Regions from separate parts of the Homo sapiens genome. Here regions 1, 2 and 3 are each linked to region 4. Evidence: promoter capture Hi-C in 16 types of primary human blood cells and fetal thymus (Javierre and others, 2016). All regions are on one chromosome and are shown on one strand. Each heading gives the region's core, a stretch centred on a gene start or on the middle of the fragment in contact. The rest is flanking DNA. Distances are from core to core; before and after follow the strand shown. Region 1 holds the start of MEIG1 (meiosis/spermiogenesis associated 1). Region 2 overlaps PIP4K2A (phosphatidylinositol-5-phosphate 4-kinase type 2 alpha). Region 3 holds the start of NMT2 (N-myristoyltransferase 2). Region 4 holds the start of NSUN6 (NOP2/Sun RNA methyltransferase 6).

What was found. The method cuts DNA at HindIII sites, captures the fragments that hold promoters and counts their contacts. A CHiCAGO score of 5 or more calls a contact.
Region 1: a contact is called between the fragment with the promoter of MEIG1 here and the fragment with the promoter of NSUN6 in region 4, in 1 of 17 cell types (naive CD8 T cells). The highest score is 6.8, in naive CD8 T cells.
Region 2: a contact is called between a fragment that was not itself captured here and the fragment with the promoter of NSUN6 in region 4, in 1 of 17 cell types (monocytes). The highest score is 7.8, in monocytes.
Region 3: the fragment with the promoter of NMT2 here is called in contact with the fragment with the promoter of NSUN6 in region 4 in 1 of 17 cell types (naive CD8 T cells); the score reaches 6.1 in naive CD8 T cells.

The regions. Positions count from the first base shown.
Region 1 is chr10:14,957,956-14,960,734 of GRCh38, reverse strand. MEIG1 (meiosis/spermiogenesis associated 1) reads right to left here and starts at 1,347. Exons shown (of 3, transcript NM_001080836.3): 1 at 1,178-1,347. RefSeq lists a silencer at 1,075-1,124. The HindIII fragment of the contact is 3,683 bases long and covers 373-2,779 here.
Region 2 is chr10:22,700,590-22,703,289 of GRCh38, reverse strand. The region is part of intron 1 of PIP4K2A (phosphatidylinositol-5-phosphate 4-kinase type 2 alpha); the gene reads left to right. Among named protein-coding and RNA genes, the nearest start is that of PIP4K2A, 13 kb to the left of the region's middle. The HindIII fragment of the contact is 3,898 bases long and covers 1-2,700 here.
Region 3 is chr10:15,167,321-15,170,121 of GRCh38, reverse strand. NMT2 (N-myristoyltransferase 2) reads left to right here and starts at 1,429. Exons shown (of 12, transcript NM_004808.3): 1 at 1,429-1,619. The coding sequence starts at 1,510. RefSeq lists a silencer at 1,230-2,059. The HindIII fragment of the contact is 10,106 bases long and covers 1-2,801 here.
Region 4 is chr10:18,650,155-18,652,910 of GRCh38, reverse strand. NSUN6 (NOP2/Sun RNA methyltransferase 6) reads left to right here and starts at 1,324. Exons shown (of 11, transcript NM_182543.5): 1 at 1,324-1,782. The coding sequence starts at 1,708. RefSeq lists an enhancer at 1,085-1,184. The HindIII fragment of the contact is 3,002 bases long and covers 1-1,946 here.

The DNA of each region.
Region 1 (2,779 bases), core at 98-2,597, 3.7 Mb after region 4:
TATTTTAAAAACACACCATCTCGGCGCGGTGGCTCACTCCTATAATCCCAGCACTTTGGGAGACCGAGGCGGGTGGATCACGAGGTCAGGAGATCGAGACCATCCTGGCCAACAAAGTGAAACCCCGTCTCTACTAAAAATACAAAAAATTAGCCGGGCATCGTGGCGGGCACCTGTGGTCCCAGCTACTCGGGAGGCTGAGGCAGGAGAATGGCGTGAACCCGGGAGGCGGAGCTTGCAGTGAGCCGAGATCCCGCCACTGCACTCCAGCCTGGGCTACAGAGCGAGACTCCGTCTCAAAAAACTAAAACAAAAATAAAAACAAAAAACACCATCTCAACTCCCTGACAATCTAAAGTTGGAACAGAAGCTTCTGATGTAGCCAGCCACCCAAATTCCCTTTTCACTTCCCTTTCACTCTGAAAAGCGCTTTTACTTTTAGTAGTATTAAAACTTCAAGAGCATTAGCCTCCCTAATAGTCCCTTTTATTCCTCCTATTAGATTATTTCTGTTCTTAAGAGGCAGCAGGAGGAGCCCTGTAACCAGCACGTAACCTTAGGCAAGGCCATGAACACGCCTGCGCCTGTTTCCTAACTTAAAGAGAAGCATTAGCCGGTCTCTAAGGTCCTGGAACTCCCGTCTGCTGTCGCTGGGCGTTCATTTGAAAGACAAAAGCGGTTCCGAAAGCACGCCCGGCGGTCCCTGCTCTGGGAGTGCTGACCTGCCTGTGTGCAGCACAAAACCGCTCCCTTCCGGCCCTCACAGCTAACCTGCAGTCCCCATCCCTCCAGCTTCCTTTCTGCCATAAATCACTAACTGTGTGGGAGATGAAATCCGCCTGGTGAAGGCTGGGACGGACAAAACACAGTATTCCAAAATCTAGGGCCCAAATCGGAGCCCTCGGAGACGCGGCCCCTAAAGCCAATGGGGTCCGGGGCGGCCCGGAAACTTCCGGGAGAACCGGACCCTGAGATTCTGGAAGGGCCAAATAGTGACCCTCTTCCCTAAAAATCACGGAAGAGACATGAAAACCACGGGATCTCCCTGGCAAACCTCAGGAGACAGCAGAGAACTGCGGAGCCGAGAAGGCGGGGCAAGAACTTCCGGGGTGGGGCTACGGCCGGGGCGCAGGGGTTGGCGGGCAGGGCCCTCGCCTCCAGCGACGCATCCACCCACCCCTGGGTCCGGCTCTACTGGGTTATCCTCGTTCCGCCGAGCAGGAGAGGCCGGGGGCGCCCGGGAGCTTGCAGGCGGGCGTGGGTGCTTGCGTTCTCTACTCGGGATCCGCGAGCAGGGCCAGCGAGAGGCCAAGTGTTGTGCCCTTCGCGACCCTCGCGTCTCTTAGTAACGCGATGAAGCTGCAGGAGCTCCCGGCTCCTTCAGGCCCCGCCCAGCTAGCTCAGGCCCCGCCCCCGGGAGTGGGCTTTTATGCGCATGCGCGAGGGCTGGGGTGGGCGCCGGCCCATCTTACTAAGCCAATGTAGGTCCCAGGTAGGAGCGCTGCCAGGGCTCACCCCTGAGCAGAGATGGAGGGCGAAAAAGGGTTACTTGCCGCTACTTGAATCCCAGACAAAATTCCCTGTGAAAGCGGATCACAGCACGGAGACTGTGTTTGTAGTTCCTGATAGTAGATATCTCCTATCTATTCATTTGCGAGGAATGAACCATTCCAGAGAGTCGCCATAGTGCCTGACAATCAGTAAACCTACAATAGATGATATCTATAGCTTTAATTATTTTTTCTAGCATTATCTATTACTATATTACAGTACTATCTAAGCGAAAAGTGATCAGATTCAAGATATACGGTTTTTTGTTTTTTTGTTTTTGTTTTTTTTTAGACGGAGTCTCGCTCCGTCGCCCAGGCTGGAGTGCAGTGGTGCTATCTCGGCTCACTGCAAGCTCCGCCTCCCGGGTTCACGCCATTCTCCTGCCTCAGCCTCCCGAGTAGCTGGGACTACAGGCACCCACCACCACGCCTGGCTAATTTTTTGTATTTTTAGTAGAGACGGGGTTTCACCGTGTTAGCCAGGATGATCTCGATCTCCTGACCTCGTCATCCACCCGCCTCGGCCTCCCAAAGAGCTGGGATTACAGGCGTGAGCCACCGCGCCCGGCCAATTTACATGTTTTGAATGTAGAGCCATCAGGACTTGTCAAATTGTTGAATGAAAGAAAGGAGCAATTGTGTGCTGGAGCCAGCTCATTAGAGCTCTGGAGACTCAGTAATTAAATTTTTAGGAATTTTTCTGAGCTCGTTGTTAAATACAAGCCATGAGCTGGAGTCAATGAAGATGACAAGGGCCTCGGGCACCTGCCCCAAACAAAACAAAAACACAAGACATATCACAAATTAAATTATATAAACTTCTAAATAAACGAGTCATACTAAAACAAAGGCAATACTTAGTAAAACTAAAAACAAAAAACTATTTACTTACAACTCCCAAATTTCTCTCTTCAGCCCGGTCTTTCTCTGAACTTTAGATTTGTATATCAATGTATATTCAACATCCACTTGATTGTACAAAACAACCTCCCCAAACACCTCCCTGCCAAAACAAAAACAAAAACCCTGCTCCTTCTTCATGTCTTTTAGTAGATGTGGCCTAGAGCCCTCTCTTTCCATATCCATCAATGCAACCTGCTGACTTTATAGCTTCTACTCAAGCCATCATAATTTTTCTTTTTTCTGGTAATTACAACCGTTCCCAACAGCTCTCTATGCCCCCTCTGTAGTCTGTTGTCAACACAACAGTCAATGCAATCTGTTTAAAA
Region 2 (2,700 bases), core at 90-2,589, 4.1 Mb before region 4:
CTACAGGTGTGCACCACCATGCCTGGATAATTTTTATAATTTTTGTAAGAGATGGGGGGTCTCGCTGTGTTGCCCAGGCTGGTCTTCAACTCTTGGCCTCAAGTAATCCTCCTGCCTCAGCCTCCCTAGGTGCTGGGATTAGAGGCATGAACCACCATGCCCAGCCTGCCCTCAGATCTTTGGATGGTTGGCTCCTATTAGTTATTTTAGTCTCTTAGCTAAGGGGTTGCCTTCTCAGATGGCCTCTCTGACCTCCTAAGCTAAGGGAGCCCCTCCACTATCATACTGTTATTTTCTCTGTGACACTTAACACTGTTTGAAACTGAGTTGTGTACATTTTTATTGCTTATCTCCCTCAACTAGAACAATAAGTTTCATAGCAACTGAGACTTTTTCCTATTTACTAGGTGTATCCCTGCATCTAGAACAGTGTGTTTAGATAGTAGGTGCTCAGTACATATTGTTGAATGAATGAGTGGGGCTGGGATTCTAAACCGTAGGCCATTAGTTCTCAGGTGGTATACCATGAGGCCTCCCATATTCAATTTTCATAAACATAGAAAGTTGACTTTTGTTATAATCAAGCATAGAGCATTTTAGAGCATTTTGCTGAGCGGGTTGTGCAGTGTGTTAGAGAGTGGGGAAAAACTTGCTGCAAATTGGTGATAAGAGGTATGGGGTAACTGCAAGCCAGTGCCAAAGAAAGAGGTTATGTTTACAGCAGCATGCAAGAACTGTGTCTTGTGAACACGACAGAAAAGGTTCAGAAAGTAAACAACTTCTTTCAAACAGTGTCAGATGTTGAAGGGCCGCCAAGTGAACTGCGTGAAGACTATGAATGCATTTCTAAGTAATCTGAGATATTATGTTAGAAGAGTGTGCTGCAGTGTTATTACTGACTTGTTCTTTTAATGGCTTCAGACATGCCTCTAAAAATTGTAGTATTCAGAAGTGTACCATAAGTTAAATTTAAGATTGCATAAACATTGTAAGAATAGGGATAATGTCAGTATCTCAGTCCTTTGTGGGTCTTTTTCTATTGTGTATTGTTTCTGCTGGTTCTTCTTCATGGTGCCTTGTTGCCATTTATGTTTGGTTCATTTTGGCTCTGAGCTGCTCACTTCCTTGGATAGTCATTCAGGGAACATTCTTCAAGTCTTAAGATAAAGATGTATCCTTCCAGAGAGAATTGTTTGTTTTTGCCACATGGCTAGGGATACTGGAGACCAAGACCATTTGAAACTAAATTCACAGCTTGGAATTTTTTGGACCTCATGGTGATATAAAATTGGGCTGCAGTCCCTGGGGTGGCATGGTTTTATTTTTGGTAGACCCATTGTAGCCTTATGGAGAAAAGGTTTCCTATTAGACTTCACACCTTGGGTGGGCCCTAGTCTTTGTCTTCTGTTCCTGTCAACCCATGAGGCCATCAAAGCCCTTAGAGCCAAAGTGGCTTCCATGACTAACTTATTCTTCCTGCTTCCAGTTTTCACTAAGATCTTGACAGGCCGACTTCTCTCCTCCCTCTTCCAACTCTTTCATGCCTTCAAGAAGATGTTTAAGAACATATTTTATTCAGGACGCTTACTTATTTTCAGTGCAGAGCTGACCTGAATAACCCTGTCAGCAGAAATGCAAATCAACCTCAAAGTTTCAAAAGAGGGAATCCAACAGTAAGTGAGACAGTGAGAAGCCAAAGCATGGTGGCACTTCTGCAGCCTTCCAGGGATGGATCTGTGAGGGGAGTCAGTGGGACAGGAGGTGGGACTGCAAGAAGGAAGAATGCCATTTCTGTCTTCCAGAGGTGATGGGAACCTGAGCTTGGGCAGGGGTAACAGACATTGTTGGATAACCAGGTATAGATGTGGTAGAAGCTGTGTTGTCTAAGTGGCCCATAGCCTAAAAGGTTTGAAGATACTGCTGTAAACAAGCAGACAAAGGATGTGCTTAGAGAGATTTCAGGTAGAATCAGCTGGATTTGGTGACTGTTAGGTAACAGGAAGGAATCGACAGTGACTCACCTAGGTCATTTTCTTACCATTCACACTCTCCATTACATTATTGTTATTTGGGGGCTGTTAGCTTCTGGCGGGATACCCCTGCCCCTCTTGCCACAACTGGGATTGTACACACAGATACTGTGAGACAGAAGAGGATTAATAAACTGCCCTGGGAGAGTTAGTGGTAGGCTCTTGAAATTCTTCAAGAATTGAATTAGCGTGGTGGATGGAGAAGCTGGAGAAAACATGTTACAGGCAGAGTAATGCATAGAAAAGCATAAAGGGTATGTGGCATTTCCAGGGAACTGCCAAACCCTTCTTCAGGTGCTTCTATACTTCTCTCCTTCTGATTTTATGGTTTTATTCATTTCCATTCTTATGGACATGTTCTTATTTAAATTACTTTTGTTTGTGTTTCTGTAGGCTTGGTCATTTAGGCTTAGAAACATATTTGCAAGTTGCTAGACACCCTAACATTCAGAGCTTAGTTTATTTGTAGTTGTAATAAATAAGCCTTGCTTTTGTTTTTTCAGCCTGGACTTTGAGGAAGGTGTTAGGTATTAGTCAACCCGAGAATGACCTCTGTAGCATTCTACATGACCTGCACAAAGGCTCCAGGTGGTAGGGGCAGGTGGGGGCTGACGTCAGTATTGCCACCTGCACACCATAGCAAGGGGCTGCATTAGCGGGAGACAGGCAC
Region 3 (2,801 bases), core at 180-2,679, 3.5 Mb after region 4:
ACCCCATTTGCCCTTCTTACAGAATTTTAGTTGTCTCAATGCCAAACAGCTGACGGGCTTTGAAATCGCTCTGCAGTTTTCATCTTTTGATACTTCTAGCTCATTGCGTTTTAAAAACATAGTCTCCCTTGGGGAAAAAAGCCATAAAATGCTCCTAGTATCTTCTGCAAAAAAAGGACCCACACCAAAAAATTCAGGTGGCTCTTTAAAGTCTCATTTTCCTCACTGAGCGGGTTCTGATGATTATCTTTGCAAAACCACTGCGGAGACTTCCGGTGGCCTAGCAGCACATTTGAACAAGATCATCTCAGCAAAGCAAAGGACAGGACTGCTCTGTACAGAATGCAGTAGCAAATAAGAGAGGCTGAACTTCACCGGTCTTCTATTTGGCAGTACTACAGAATGCCTCCCTTCCCTCTTCTGAGAGAGACAGCGGACAATTTCAGCACAGAAGGCCGTGCACGTTTGCTTGGAAATCTAGGTCATGACCTTGACTTTGGGAAAGCCAGGGTAGCCTACCTGAAACTGTCCAATCCCCCAGCATCGTGGACACGTCCCCAAGTCCCTCAAGATGTCTGTTCTGGTCTGAGCCGTCCGTAGTAGTGTCCAGGGAAAGCAGGGGTAGCTCAAAAATTTCTGTCAAGAGTTTTAGTGCTGCAAGCCTGGTTGGGACAGGGCGGTGGAGGGCTGGAAATACTGTTTTTGACTTTGAATTTGATTTTATAATGTATTAGATGGATAGATAGATGCGAAATGGAATTGTTAACATGTATGTGGAGGGGCGGGAAGAGTTTCTGGAAAGCCCCATCCCTGAGTGCCTACTCCTGAGTGGGAAAAACCCCTGCACGGGCTGGGAGCGCTCCCTAATTCGTCCAGAAGTAAAATCGCATGGCCTGTGTTCCAAAAATGCCGCCACTCAGGATGTCAAGTCTGCACGTTTGCAGCTTTGAGAGCCGAGCCCCAGGCAGAGGCACCGCGCAGGCCTGGATGTACAGGACTCGGCCCTGTGCAGGGCTGGCCAGGGTGAGCAGGGTTGGAGCTGGCGGGGCGGGGAGGGGCGGGGCCATCTGGGAGGGGCTGCGGCGGTGGGCGGGGTTAGAGGGCGGGTTTGAAGCCGGCAGGGTGGGGAAAGGCGGGGCTGGAGGGGAGGGGTCTCAGAGGCGGGCGGGGTTAGAGAGCTGGATTGAAGCCGGCGGGACGGGGAGAGGCGGGGCTTGGTGGGGAGGGACGAAGAGGTGGGCGGGGTTCAAGCCCGTGGGGCAGGGCGGGGCCGGCGGGCAGGGCGGGGCCGGCGGGCTGGGCGCGGACGGTGAGGGGCGGGGATGGAGGGCGGGGCGGGACGGAGGGCGGGGAGGGGGCGGGACGGAGGGCGGGACGGGGCGCGGGCGGGGCGGGGCGGGGCGTAGCGCCCGGGCTCCGACTCCAAGCAGTACGGCGGGAGGCACTAGAGGGAGCTGCGGCCGCTCCGGCCCGGCCCCGAGCACCGCCTCCCCAGCCAGCGCCGCCGCGATGGCGGAGGACAGCGAGTCTGCGGCCAGCCAGCAGAGCCTGGAACTGGACGACCAGGACACGTGCGGGATAGACGGGGACAATGAGGAGGAGACGGAGCACGCCAAAGGGTAGGGGCGGCGCGCTGGCGCACCGGGCGCGACAGGGCGGGGACCGCGCGCGCCACGGTCTCCCGTTCGGGGGTGGCTCCCAGGACTGGGGGTTCTTCGGCCGCTCCGCCCCGCGATGGCTTCTCCGTGGCGCGGAGCCCATGGTGAGGTCCGGGGCGCGCGGCTCGCGGGAGAGTGCAGTGCGCGGGGAGGCGAGGCCCGGGGTGGGCGGGGAGGCTGGGGCCCGGGCGGGGAGACGCTACTGTCACTTGCCGCGCGCCCCCGGCCAGCCTCGCCCATCCCCGCCGGCGGCCTGGCCCAGGAGGCGCCTGTTGCCCTCGCCCGCGGGTGGCTCCGGTGGGCGCCGAGGAGAGGCGCTACGCCCTTCCCTTTGTGGCGGCCGCAGCCTGGGGTAGGAGGTCGCCCTCCTCTGCTCCCTGCCATCCTTGTTAAGTCCCTTCAGACTCCCTCTCCGCAGCCGCCACCCGAAAAGAATGGGCAAAGACGTGGGTGGAGCGGCGTGGAGGTGCCCCGATGGTGTCGGGGCCGCAGGCGGCGAACTGCGCAAAGTTCTGGCGCCGAGGGGGTCCCGGGCCCGGCCCCTGCTGGGGATACTGGGCTTTGCACCGCCTCGCCTGTCCCTAGAGCTCTTCAGAGCAGGGCCGATCCCCTGAACCGGGCTCCCGCTGACCTGGCCGTATCCTGTTTGCAAAGCTGGTATTTGATCTCCAAAACTCGATGCACCACGCATTTTCACACTTGATCGGATTTCTTAATCCTTTCCCTTTGCCCCCGAACCCTGCAGACTTGATTTGCTCTTCTGTTGGAGAAAAGGATTGCTTCAGGTGAAGGCCGGTGTTGATGCTCTCTTTTTAGAGGCAGTGGGTCATTTTAAATAAAAACTGGTGTCCTTTTAAAGTGCTGTTTACATTACCCTTTTACCCTATTGGATTCAAACTATGCGCTGGCACAGAGCGGTTCTTGCTACACCCTTAGAAGTGAGATTTTTCGAACCATGGTGAGTGATGGAGAAGTGGGTCAGCTTAAAAAACATGATAGGGAGGCCTGAGTCACAGATGGTTTACTCAGTTCGTAGAGAGATTCTTGAAATGATTGATCATTGAAAGTGTAAATCATTTGCATTCTACTTGTCTACTTTAAGATTTATTATAGAAAGGGACTTTTGACTGACCTCTAATTCAT
Region 4 (2,756 bases), core at 75-2,574:
GAGTTGTTTCAACCCTAGGAACCTTGATTTACTCTTTAAAACAGAGAAAATGGGCTGGGCGTGGTGGCTCACGCCTGTAATCCCAGCACTTTGGGAGGCTAGAGAGTCAGATCAGTTGAAGTCAGGAGTTTGAGACCAGCCTGGCCAGCATGGTGAAACCCCGTCTCTATTAAAATTACAAAGATTAGCTGGGCCTGGTGGCACATGCCTGTAATTTTAGCTACTCGGGAGGCCAAGGCAGGAGAATCTCTTGAACCAGGAGGTGGAGGTTGCAGTGAGTCGAGATCCCACCATTCCACTCCAGTCTGGGCGACAGAGACTCAAAAAAAAAAAAAAAAAAAGAGCAGAGAAAATGATAAACAACTTGCAGGTTGTTGTGTGGTATAATGGTCATTCATTATTTTCTACTCTTTCTGGTAAAGAGTTGGTGTGTCATGGAAAGTACCTGTTCTATGTGTGTGTGTCTGTGTGTATAATTCGGTGTGAAAATTAAAGAGAAAAAAACAATAAAAAACCCTTTCCTATACTTATGTGTAAATTACCATGGTGTGCTGCAAAAAACATATGTCAAGGTGATAGAATTATTTTGACTTTCCTGTACAGTTATAAAATGACTCAGTGAGTTTGGTTAGATATCCTCGTTCTTTGAATCTATATCCTTGTCTGCTTATGATGAAAAAAAAGAAAAAAAAATAATGGCGAGGGTCTTCCAAACTCTAAAGAATATGTCAACTATGATACAAGTAGCAGTTAGCCTTATAACTAACTGTAAACACTGTCTGTGGGTTTTAAGTTTTACCTGAGCATTGGATATTAACAGACCATTAGCCCAACTTTCAAAAATATGAACCCTATGAACTTCACAACTGAAGTCAGATCTGTATGCCTGAGAGAGGTAAAATCATGTCATGAAATCAAACGGTGGCTGATGCGCCCAAATTCTGGCCTCATCCTCTAACTGGAGGACATCTGGCAGGACAGCAACTGGGCTGTGCCTTTTTTCAGTCCAGCAACATCTTCCACTCAACCCACGCCATTTGGCTGTTTCCCCATTGCCCCTGGCACCTAGCCCTCCGGTACCGGGAACTAAATATCTTTGACCATCCCGCCCGCGGGGTCTGCCTACTTAACCTGAGGCAGGTGAAAGAGCCTCACGCAGGGTTAGGAACCTCCGGGGGCGTGGCGTAGCGTAACGCAGTGTTGGGGAAACTTGCGGCTGTGGATTGGGGGACCGGAAAGGGAGGGGTGGGCCGCAGGCGCCGGACGTGACGTAAGCCGGAAGCGACTTTCCGCCGAGAAATAGGGGGCGCGTGTTTGGAAATTGATAGAAAAGATAAAGGGACCGAGCTGCTGTCAGCCTGGCTTACTGATCTGCGTCCGTTTCACCACGGATTCAGTTACTAAGCATTTTTTTCTTTTTTTGGTTCTTTGCAACGTGAGTGGCATTGGCTCAGTGATTTCCATGAGCATCTCTACCAGAAAACATTGCCTCGATGAGGTGTGGTGGAAGCCCGGCAGCCCCTTCTAATCGGCTAGGCTTGAGAAAGCGTGTACCTCTGCATTTCCGAAATTAACTCAGCGTGATCGGCAAGATTTTCCTCAGCATCTGGTGTCAAGACACTCGTCACTATTAATTCGGAAAGAAAAAAAAAAACAAAACACCGTTTTCCAGCATTTCTCTTGGTGGAGAACTAAACAACAGGAAAAATGTCTATTTTCCCTAAGATATCTTTGAGACCTGAGGTTGAAAACTATCTTAAGGAAGGCTTTATGAATAAGGAGGTAGGTCAAGTAAAGATGTTAGTTGATATTTTGCAAAAACTCAAATATTCGCACACTCGAGAGAAATAGAAATAAGTATAAAGGGAAATCTTGACAGCCGTCGTTCCTTACTACTTGTCTATCAAGTGTAAAAATACCAATATGTTTCTACAGGTATTAAAGCTTACTGAGATACGAAGTGAATAAGGTATATGTTTTAACATTTAGGAGTGGAAAAGAAGGGAAAAAAGGCATGTGCCTGTCAGGCATGGCACAAAGGGTTACAAGGATGAACAAGAAAAGGTCCCTGTCTTCAAGAACTCGAATCGAATTTTAAAAGAGCGCTGGCTCTGGCACTCAGGTGAAAAGGTTTCTGTAATTTGTTGAGTGCCTCTTAAATGCCAGCAGTTGTGCTAGGAGATTTGCATCTTTAATCTTCACAATCTTTTTTTTCTTAGAGGTTTTTCCTCTTTTAATAGACTTGAGCAGAAAACTGCTCAAGGAATTGTGTAACTGATCCAAGTTGACACAGCTATCAAGTAACTATTGAAATCTGGAGGGAAAGAGTTCAGGTGTAATGAACAAAGGTACAGCTTTTGAATCTCAGGCACATGATTTGCATTCTAGTGCTTTGTAAATTACGTGGCTTAACCTAGATTTTTCTCTTCTGTGAAAAATTGAGAATGGTTAAAAATATCTTGCCAGGTTGTTTTAGGATATTAAACGTAAGTGAATACAACTAGCATTGTTTTGGCATGTAAGTCCTCAAAAAATGTTAATTTTATTTGCTAAAGTCCTCAGTAAATGTTGATTATCTTTGATTGCAAAGCCTGTTGTCTATTCCATTTTACCATGCTGCCTCTAAGCAACTTTGTTTTTTTTCAAATCTTTAATTTTTTAGTCAAGTTAAAAATATTTTACCAGGTTGTTTTAGGATATTAAACGTAAATGAAAACAACTTGCATTGTTTTGGCATGTAAGTCTTCAAAAAATGT